Regions from separate parts of the Homo sapiens genome. Here all the other regions are linked to region 3. The links are contacts of gene promoters, found by promoter capture Hi-C in human tissues and cell types (Jung and others, 2019). All regions are on one chromosome and are shown on one strand. Each heading gives the region's core, a stretch centred on a gene start or on the middle of the fragment in contact. The rest is flanking DNA. Distances are from core to core; before and after follow the strand shown.

Region 1 (3,439 bases), core at 98-2,597, 620 kb after region 3:
GTTGGCCAGATGAGGTGGCTTATGCCTGTAATCCTAACACTTTGTGTGGCGGAGGTGGCGGATTGCTTGAGGCCAGGAGTATGAGACCAGCCTGGGCAACATGGTGAAACCCTGTATCTACAAAAAATACAAAAATTAGCTAGCCATGGAGCTCATGCCTGTAATCCCATTACTTTGGGAGGCTGAGGCAGGAGGATCACTTGAGACCAGGGGTTCAAGACCACCCTGGGCAACACAGTGAGACCCTGCCTCTTCAAAAAAAATTTGTTTAAGTTGTTACTATCTTATATAAGTTCAAGAAAATAGTGGAAAGATTAAACAAATAATGGCATGGAATCTCATCTTGGGCCAAGACAACAAAGCAAAAAAAAATTTTAAATAATAATGACATGGAGTATTTTAAAAAGACCCAAATTGAACTTCTGGAGATGAAAACTACAGTGTTTTAAAATAAAAGCGCACTGGATGGGATTAACAGAAGATTAGAGACTGCAGAAGAAAAGATTTATGAATCTGAAGATATATGAATAGAAGCTATCCTAAATGAAAGCCGGAGAGATTAAAATACTAAAAAAGGCCAGGCATGGTGGCTCACACCTGTAATCCCAGCACTTTAGGAGGCCAAGGCAAGAGGATCGCTTGAGCCCAGGAGTTCAGGACCAGCCTCCTGGACAACATAGTAAAACCCTGTCTCTACAGAAAATACAGAAATTAGCTGGGCATGATGGCAAGTGCCTGTGGTCCCAGCTACTCAAGAGGCTGAGGTGGGAGGATCACCTGAGCCCAGGAGGTCGAGGCTGCAATCCGCTGTGATCCTGCCACTGCACTGCTGCTTGGGCAGCAGAGCAAAACCCTGTCTCAAGAAAATTAGTAAATTAAATTAAAAAAATAAAAGACTGAAAGAAAATACAGCATCATTGAGCTGTGGGACACTTCAAATAGTCTAATGATGTAATTGTAGTCCCCAAAGAAGAGGGAGGGGCATAAAATATTTGAAAAAATTAATGACTGAAATTTTTCTAAATTGGAGGGAAACTATAAACCTGCAGATTCTAGAAGCTTAGTGAACCCTAACCACTGGAAGCATGAAGAGAACTACACCAAGGCTTTTCATAATCAGATTGCTTAAAACCAGTGGTAAAGAGAAAAATATTTAAAGTGTCCAGAGGAAAAAATGACACATTATGAAAAAAAGAAAGGTAAGAATGATGGCAGACTTTTCTTTGGAAATAATGCAAATGAGAAATAGTACATCAGTATCTTTAAAGAACTGAAAGGAAAAAAACTCATCAATCTTGAACAATATGCCCAGTGAAAATATATTTCAAAAACGAAGGCAAGATAAACACTTTTTGTGGGGGTGGGGATAGAATCTCTGTCTGTCTCCCAGGCTGGAATGCAGTCACACAATCACGGCTCACTGCAGCCTCAACCTCCCCAGGCTCAGGTGGTCCTCCCACCTCAGCCTCCTGAGCAGCTGGGATTACAGGTGCGCACCACCATGCCCAGCTAATTTTTTTATTTTTTGTAGAGGTGGGGTTTTTCCATGTTGCGCAGGAGGGTCTCAAACTCCTGGATTCAAGCAATCCACCCACTTCAGCCTCCCAAAGTGCTAGGATTACAGGCGTGAGCCACCGTGCCCATCTCACACTCTTTAAAGATATATCAAAACTGAAAGAATTAATCAGCAAAGACCTGCACTACAAAAAATATTAAAGGATTCCTTTCAGGAGAAGGAAAATGATACCAGATGGAAATCTGGATTTACTTAAGAGAATGAAGAACACTAGAAGTAGTAAATATGTCAGTAAAAATAAAGTGACTGCAGTTCATTTTACCTTCAATAGGTCCGGGGGTAAAAATGTGATTTTGAAGACTGCAACTATTCCGTAGTTCATGTCTGCTTAAAGTCTCTCAATAATTTGCTAACCTCAGCACCTTTTAGAGGTAAATTTGTTTGTAAATTATTAGGAAGTTATGACTCATGTTATAGCAACTTACTACAAGTAAAGCAAATGTCAGTAGTTTTTGGTAAGGTATCTCGTATTGGCTCTTGGTGGGTTTTTTTTTTTTTTTTTGAGACACGGTCTCACTTTGTCACCCAGGCTGGAGTGCAGTGGCGTGATCTCAGCTGACTGTAGTCTCAACCCCCTGAGTTCAAGCCATCTTCACTAGGCTATATACATACACATATGTATATGTATATATATAAATTATATATATACACAACACACATGTATACATACATATATATACACATACATGTATGTATATGTATATATACGTATACATACATATACATGCATGTGTGTGTGTGTGTGTGTGTATATATATATATATATATATTTTTTTTTTTTTTTTTTTTTAGATGAAGTCTTGGTCTGTTACCCAGGTTGGAGTTCAGTGGCACGATCTTGGCTCACTGCAGCCTCTGCCTCCCAGGTTCAAGCGATTCTCCTTCCTGCCTTAGCCTCCCAAGTAGCTGGGATTACAGGCATGCGCCACCATGGTCGGCTAATTCTTGTATTTTTAGTAGAACAGGGTTTCACCATGTTGGCCAGGCTGGTCTCGAACTCCTGACCTCAGGTGATCCGCCTGCCTCAGCCACTAGGCTATTATTTTTGAAAGAAGCAAAAGAACAGATAAGCAGATAAAGGAGGAAACAAAAACATTTGTAATAGTGGCCACATACCAAATTTCAGTTTGCGCAGTCTTTGAAATCCTGTTCTATTACTTTTTTTTTTCTTTTTTTTTGAGACAGGGTCTCACTCTATCACCCAGGCTGGAGTGCAGTGGTGCAATCTCAGCTCATTGCAACTTCCACCTCCTGGTTCAAGAGATTCTCATGCCTCAGCCCCCATAGTAGCTGGGATTACAGGCACGCACCACCACGCCTGGCTCATTTTTTTTGTATTTTTAGCAGAGACAGAGTTTCACCATGTTGGCCAGGCTGTTTTATGACTCCTAAGGGTGAAGTTTGGTTTTCTTCCATTGCTACTGGTCAGAATATCTTTTTTTTTTTTTTTTTTTTTTGAGATGGAGTCTCGCTCTGTTGCCCAGGCTAGAGTGCAGTGGGGCAATCTTGGCTCACTGCAACCCCCATCTCCTGGGATCAGGCAATTCTCCTGCCTAAGCCTCCCGAGTAGATAGGATTACAGGCATCCACCACCACATACAGCTAAATTTTTTGTATTTTCAGTAAAGACAGGGTTTCACCATGTTGGCCAGGTTGGTCTCAAACTCCTGACCTCAGGTGATCCGCCCATCTCGGCCTCCCAAATTGTTGGGATTACAGGCGTGAGCCACCGTGCCCAGCCCAGAATATCTTAAATAGGCAAAACTGATTTGCTGAACTGGGTTTCCTGAAATATCTGTTCTTGCAACCAATTATGTTTCTTCATGAGAGCTTAGATTTTCTCCCTCTGTGTGGAAAAAAAAT
Region 2 (3,345 bases), core at 455-2,954, 670 kb after region 3:
GCTTCACAGGAAAACTGCCTGGAAAAGTTCATCCCGGACCACAGTGAAGGTGTTGTAGAAACTGACTCCATTTTAGAAGCAGCTGTAAATAGTATCCTAGAGTGTTAATAGCAGCAGTCCTCCCCCTACCCCGCCCCGAGACCCCACCCCGAGACCCCACCCCGGACCAGTTACATTCGTTCCTGGCAAAAGCAAATGGAAATGGTCTCCTGTCTCCAGCCTGCTTGATCTTTCATCACAGGTTATTCTTTCTAATCTCAATCCTGTTCTTTGTTTAAGAGCAATACTTGTCGTGATTACAGGGAGATCCTTTAGTAAAATTAATCCTTGGCAGAAAGCAGTCTGATAGGCCCCACTCATTTCAAGTGTTATGAAAGTGCTTATAGGCATTTTGTTTATTTGTTTTGTTTTTTAAAAACACTGTAACTCAATGAGACCACAGTATACTTGGCCCTTGGTAAAATTTTGACAATCATAAGTCATTTGAAAAGAACAGACTTACTAAAATCAAACGAGACGGATAGAAGCTACTTTTTAAAGAATATCCCACTGCATCTGCAAATTTAGTTTTGGGTTTTTTTATTATTATTATTTTGAGTTTTTTTGTGTGTGTTTTGTTGTTATTGTTGAGGGGAAGACCACATGGTTCTTCCCCCTCAGCCATCTTTGAGCAGTAAATTGCTGGCTGTGCTGCCAGGGACCCGCAGCCCTGGTGGAAAAGCCAGTAGCACATACGCAGGGCATTGCAGGGCTTCCCTATTGATGGTTCAAGTGCTTTTCTGATGCTTCCGGAGCAAAACCTCATGCTTTTAGGCATATCTATGTTGAATTTCACCTAGGGAATGTTCTGTTCTTAGTTACAGCAGCAAAATTTGAAATAATTTCACCAGGCTAAATAAAGGAAAATGGAAACCAGTTAAGAGGCACAGTGTACAGAGGAGGCCGGGATAGAGCCATGAGGGTTATAATATTAATATGTATATATGTAAAAGCATATATATGTTAACTATTGAGAAAAAACAAGTTTTGCATTTTATAATTGGATATAGTCAACATATAATGTATGTTTTTGTTTGTTGCTGGATTTTGTTTCATTTAACCTCTCTTTGCACCCTCTCCCACAACAAATACCAAGCATCAAAAGCACTTTCATTTGAAAATTATTATGTTGTAATTTTTCAGTTTAAACTTTAAGGAGACTCTGGCCTTGTTTATGCTTCTTGTCTGAGAACAGTAGTGACCCCTGGCAGCAATTCATTACCAAAACACAGACAAACCAAAGGTAACCAGCTAGCCCACCACTGAAAGGAAAGATCTGAGACATGGGATTCCCATTTGAGAGCCAAAGGATATGCCCTGTCATGGTTTCTGTTTGGCCTGTGTTCATATTAGTGAGCATGGCTTACTGCTTTATTTATTTTTATTTCTTGTCAGGGAGTATTCTCCGTTTTCCTTTCTCGTATACCTGCCCCAGGTTATCCCATTTCTGTTGTTACCTTTATTCTTAATGTCATTGTAACCATCACTTATCTCCTCTCATTGGGAAAGCTACATGATAGTATTTTTATGCACTCTTCTCCCACACATACACACACGTGCATGTATCTGAGCTGCTCGGATCCAGAGGTCATTTTTGTTACAGTGTGTGCACACTCACTCTCCTTCTTAGTGTGCATACTCTCTCATTTATTCTGTTTATCTCCCTGGCTCTGGAGGTGCAGCCACTGGTCTTCACTTTAATGTGTTGCCAGAATCTGCTTCTGGCTGTCGCCAACATGGGGATGACCCCCATTGTCATCATGTTGGGCATTTCTTTTCCAGATTGGCCTGTGATGGAAAGGAAGGCTTCTAATTAGAAAACACAGCAACAGAAGACCTATACCCCGGTGCCCCTGTGTCCCACTACACACAGAAAACCCTGTGAGATGGCCAGTCTTCATAATAGCAACGTACCTTCACCCCAGCCACATGCCCCAGCCAATACAAATTGGAAAATCTGGCCCATTTTAGGGTTACCATTTTTTCCTTATTTGTGCCAATGTCCAAGTTGCAGATTTCCCCTTTTTCCTGTATTGTAACATATTAGATAAGTTGGTGTCGCCAGTTGGTACTTTCTGTTTGGGTAGTCCTAGGGTAACACCCTGCCCTAAACTCCATGATTTCATAGGCTTTTCTTCCCTTGGGGCTCATGCTCCCCTAATTCCTAGCAAGATGATCCTTCCTAATCAAATTCTTCTCATTGCAGAACTTTATCCCTGGAAGCCTTCATGTGGGCTGCTAGTGAGTTACATTAATTACTGCAAATCAGTGGAATTCTCAAGAGACAAGATAAGCTTCATGTACATTTGTCACCTCTCTTTCTTCCCTATCCTGCCCTGCTGTCCCAATCCTAGCTTTTCTATATACCATCCTAAAGGGTTTTTAAGCCCTAACACTTGTCTAGCAAATGGAGAGCCTAATTTACCAAAATGAAACTTGTAAATTTTTGTGTCATTGTATGTAAGTTTACTTTTTATGGAGGAAGGATTCTAGATAATGACAAATGAAGATTATGACATGTATTTCACTCCTGTGATTAGGTTCTACGCACATGGGTCATAACTCGCATGTCGAGCCCCCTCTAGTGAAGGGTAGGAGAGCTCAGCCTCGGATGGCCAACATTCAGTTGTTCAGGTTCATTCGTCAAAGTTAAGTTTTAGAACTATTTGTACTCAGTAACAAAAATCATTTTCTTTTTTTTTTTTTTTTTCTGTTGTGGAAAAGCGTGAATTTGTTATTAAGCATTTGATTTTCTGTGTCCTTAAGTACTTCCTGAAGATGAAGCAAAATTTTAATCTGGCAATTATGAAAAAGAAATATTTTAGCTCTGAAGGATTTAGTAGATTCTGTTAGATTAGGGAGGCCTTACAGACTGACTTTACTTAAAGAGGACGCGTCACTCGCTGTCAGTGTGGTGTGGGCTTTATTTGCTTAAATACCTTCATTTGTATAGTACGTCTCACTTGAAATTGCTTTGTATACATTTTGTAAAAATATTTATAAAATGTTTTGTAAAAAAAAAAAAACTATAACAAATTGCAGTTTATTTTGTTATGTTGGATAAATACTGTTAAAAGAAACCAGTCAGTAACTATATTGTTAATCCATGGTTAGGAAATGTTTAGTTGGAGATTACAAATTGAAACAACCATTGCAATACAGCCAAAGATTTGGGAAAATGTGCAACTGTGATTGTCTTGATTTTGCAAATAGGAATGGCTACTTTTCCCAGAAGAAAAGGGTAAGTGTTCAATGGGAATTCTATTTTAATAGATTTACCAATACCAAAATCAATTTACCCCAGTC
Region 3 (3,259 bases), core at 731-3,230:
ATCATGTATATGTATATATACTTATAGGATACATTATATATATGTATGTATACAGAGAGAGGCAGAATGATAAAGTAAATGATATAAAATGTGAATAACTGGGGAAATTTGGATAAATTGCATATGGGAGTTACTTGTATCATTCTTATAACTCTTCTGTAAATTTAGAATCATAGTAAAATTAAAAAGTTATTCAAAAAGGAAAAAACATTGATGAACATCATATGCCGATTTATAAGAAGAGATGAGGTATAAGGAGTACAACTATATGCCTAGGGGCTTAATCAGCCCTTTGGATCTTGAATCATGATCGTATTGATTTTTAGATGAATCTGGGGAAGATTGATGGACTTAAATGAGTCTTATTATTTATGACCTGATATATTTGTTTACTTTTCTTACATTTTAAAAAAACATCAATTATTTTAAAAAGTCATCTTCTCTCTTTAAAAAACCTGCCTTCTAGGCAGGAGCACTTAAGACCTTGGGCAAATCGATTCATTCCCTTTTGCCCAGCTTTCTCATCATTTAATTTGGAATAACAAAAGTCTGCCCCTCCCACCCAGGGTTGCTGCTGATTCAGAGGAGACCTAAGAGAGGCGGAGCGCTGAGAAGTCCGAAACTGGCTCTGTGCCCTGTGGGGTGGTCGATGGGGTTCATCTCTAAGGAGGTTCTGTTGAATTGAAGGTGCTGACCTCACCCTCCTGTCCCGGGACAGGCACTGTGGGGACGTGCACTGACTGGTACCAGCGACAGGATGAGACCTGAAGTGGCATTCCCAGTGATTCAGCTTAGAAAGCTAAGTTCTCCACGCACTGAGGAATGGAGAACTGACACTTTCTTCAGATTAAATTGGTATTTGAGGCAAATACCAGGGCATTTGAGGTATTTGAGGTATTTGAGGATTGCCAGGGCACTGAACTGGATAACCTTAAATAATCAAGGGGTTTTTAACTGAATTGAAATTTAAAATTCAATCCCCTGGTGCATTTACAAGATGTGTTATCTTCTTAGCTGCTAGTGACATTGTGGGCTTAGAGAAACTCTAGTCTGAATGATTTAATGAAACCTTCCAGGACTTGAAGAGCTGAAAGGGGCTTTTGCAGTCATTCGCCCAGTCTCCCAATACATGCAGGAGCCTCTTCCAGCATTCTTGACAGGGAGGATCTGACCAGTCTCAGAAGAACCCCAACAAGAGGGAGCTCATAGCCCATGCTAAGATACCTTGTCTCATTTAGAACATCTCTTTTGCTCCTAGTGTTTAGAGTGACAGGGGCTCTGGCAGATGCGAAAACCCGGTCATTGGGCTGCAGAGTCTTGGTCAAAAATACACAAAGAGAGGACCTGGACTGTCTGCCAGTCGCCCTTCAGCTCTCAAGAAGAGGACACAGGGAGCATCAGCCGACAGCTAAGAGATGGAGGGAGGGAAGGAGAGACAGAGAAGATGGAAAGGGACAAAAGGAAGAGAAGAGACAGAAGGGTTTGGTGAGTGAGACAGAAAAGGTAAAGAGAGACGGAGTGGAAAGAAGAGCAGAGAAAGAGCCGAGGAGTGGGGAACTGGGAGCTCTCCCTGAGGACACTTGTGGAGGAAGGCGCCAGGTGGACTGGCCACTGGTCCTTCCCTTCAGGGTGCCTTACCCCATTCTTGTCGAAGGCTCGGAACATGCCCTCTACATACTGGGAGGCCTCCTCATCGTCTGTGACCTTGAAGAAGCGCTTAAACTCATGCATAAAGAGTGTGCCGCTGGGGCACTCCATCACAAACTTCTTGTACCACTCCTGGAGCTCCGCCACATCTATCTCGCCAGCTGCCTCCGCCTCCTCCCAGCTAAACTCCTGCCCCATGCTAGCCCTGAGGAGCATCAGGGAGCAAGGGTCTGTATCTCCTCCCTGGCTTCTGCTGATGGATCTCTCCAACTAGGGCCCTCTTCCTCCCTTTCCAGGAGGCCTGATCAGCCTCTCCATCATCTCCTGGGTGACTGAACATGATCAGTCGGTGCAGGGGGCAGGTGGCAAGGGAGGTGGGTCCAGGCCAGCTAAGCTGCCCTAAGACTATTAGAAGATTCCCCAGGTGGCCGGGTGCGGTGGCTCATGCCTGTAATCCCAGCACTTTGGGAGGCCGAGGTGGGTGGATCACAAGGTCAGGAGTTCGAGACCAGCCTGGCCAACATGGTGAAATCCTGTCTCTACTAAAAATACAAAAAATTAGCTGGGCATGGTGGTGGGTACCTGTAATCCCAGCTATTCAGGAGGCTGAGGCAGGAGAATCACTTGAACCTGGGAGATAGAGGTTGCAGTGAGCTGCGATCACACCACTGCACTCCAGCCTGGGGGACAGAGTGAGACTCTGTCTCAAAAAAAAAAAAAAAAAAAAAAAAAGAGATTCCCCAGGAAGTTCTGACCTCCAGCCTAAACTCCTCCAGCCTCACTCCTTCCCTTAGCCTTGTCAACAAAGCAACCAAGCTGGCCCTGGTAGACTCTGAAGAGGTAGAAGGGGAAGAAACTGAGAGGTAAGCAGAGAGATGCAGAGTGAAGAAAGAGTCGGGGTGCTAGGCTGGGATCCTCCCATCTCACTCACTCCCTATCTCTTTAGCTGGGCCTCACATTGCTTCAGGGAGGCCCATCTTGGAGACAGGAGACTCAAATCCAGAGAGGAAGTGAGATCAAGTCCTAGGCCATAAAACAGAATCTGCTGGTGATCTGGGACTCGCCCCTCAGACGGTCTAGTGAAAAGAGGCAGAATCTATGATGGGAAGGGCTCTAGGTGAGCAACTCTCTTCCCAGGCTAACTCGGTCCCTGAAGCTCCTTTCCAGATTACACCTTTCATCTTGGGAGCTTTTCACTTTCTGATTTAAACTACAAATGCCTCCCTCCAACCCTTCACACAAGACCTAGGGGTAGTGCCTTTTTCACATTTCCTCCAAAATACTAACATGTGAGAAGGATCTGGGAGCATGGCCTAAAATATCTTTGAAGGCTCTTACTTTTACATTATAGGTCATGTAAAATTTGCTTTTGAACAATTACATATTCATGCTTATTTTAATGTAACATAAAAATGACACCTCCAAGAAATCAAAAGACCAGGGACACACATTTTTCTTTTTCTTTGCTTTTTTTTTTTAAATTTCTATTTTTTGAGACAGGGTCTCGCTCTGTCGCCCAGGCTGGAGTGCAGTGGTGTGATCTCGGCTCACTGCAACTTCCGCCTCCGGGTTCAAGTGATTCTCATGCCTCAGCCTCCCGAGCAGCTGGGAT

What was found. The method cuts DNA at HindIII sites, captures the fragments that hold promoters and counts their contacts. A contact is called where the count stands out against the background at its distance.
Region 1: a contact is called between a fragment that was not itself captured here and the fragment with the promoter of GUCA1B in region 3, in 1 of the 25 tissues and cell types used here (spleen).
Region 2: a fragment that was not itself captured here is called in contact with the fragment with the promoter of GUCA1B in region 3 in 1 of the 25 tissues and cell types used here (bladder).

The regions. Positions count from the first base shown.
Region 1 is chr6:42,812,175-42,815,613 of GRCh38, forward strand. All of the region lies in intron 2 of BICRAL (BICRA like chromatin remodeling complex associated protein), which reads left to right. Among named protein-coding and RNA genes, the nearest start is that of BICRAL, 32 kb to the left of the region's middle. The HindIII fragment of the contact is 4,753 bases long and covers 1-3,439 here.
Region 2 is chr6:42,865,339-42,868,683 of GRCh38, forward strand. It overlaps BICRAL (BICRA like chromatin remodeling complex associated protein), which reads left to right. Exons shown (of 13, transcript NM_001393499.1): 13 at 1-3,218. The coding sequence ends at 108. Among named protein-coding and RNA genes, the nearest start is that of RPL7L1, 13 kb to the right of the region's middle. The HindIII fragment of the contact is 8,715 bases long and covers 1-3,345 here.
Region 3 is chr6:42,192,976-42,196,234 of GRCh38, forward strand. It overlaps GUCA1B (guanylate cyclase activator 1B), which reads right to left and starts at 1,981. Exons shown (of 4, transcript NM_002098.6): 1 at 1,639-1,981. The coding sequence starts at 1,845. The HindIII fragment of the contact is 9,949 bases long and covers 1-3,259 here.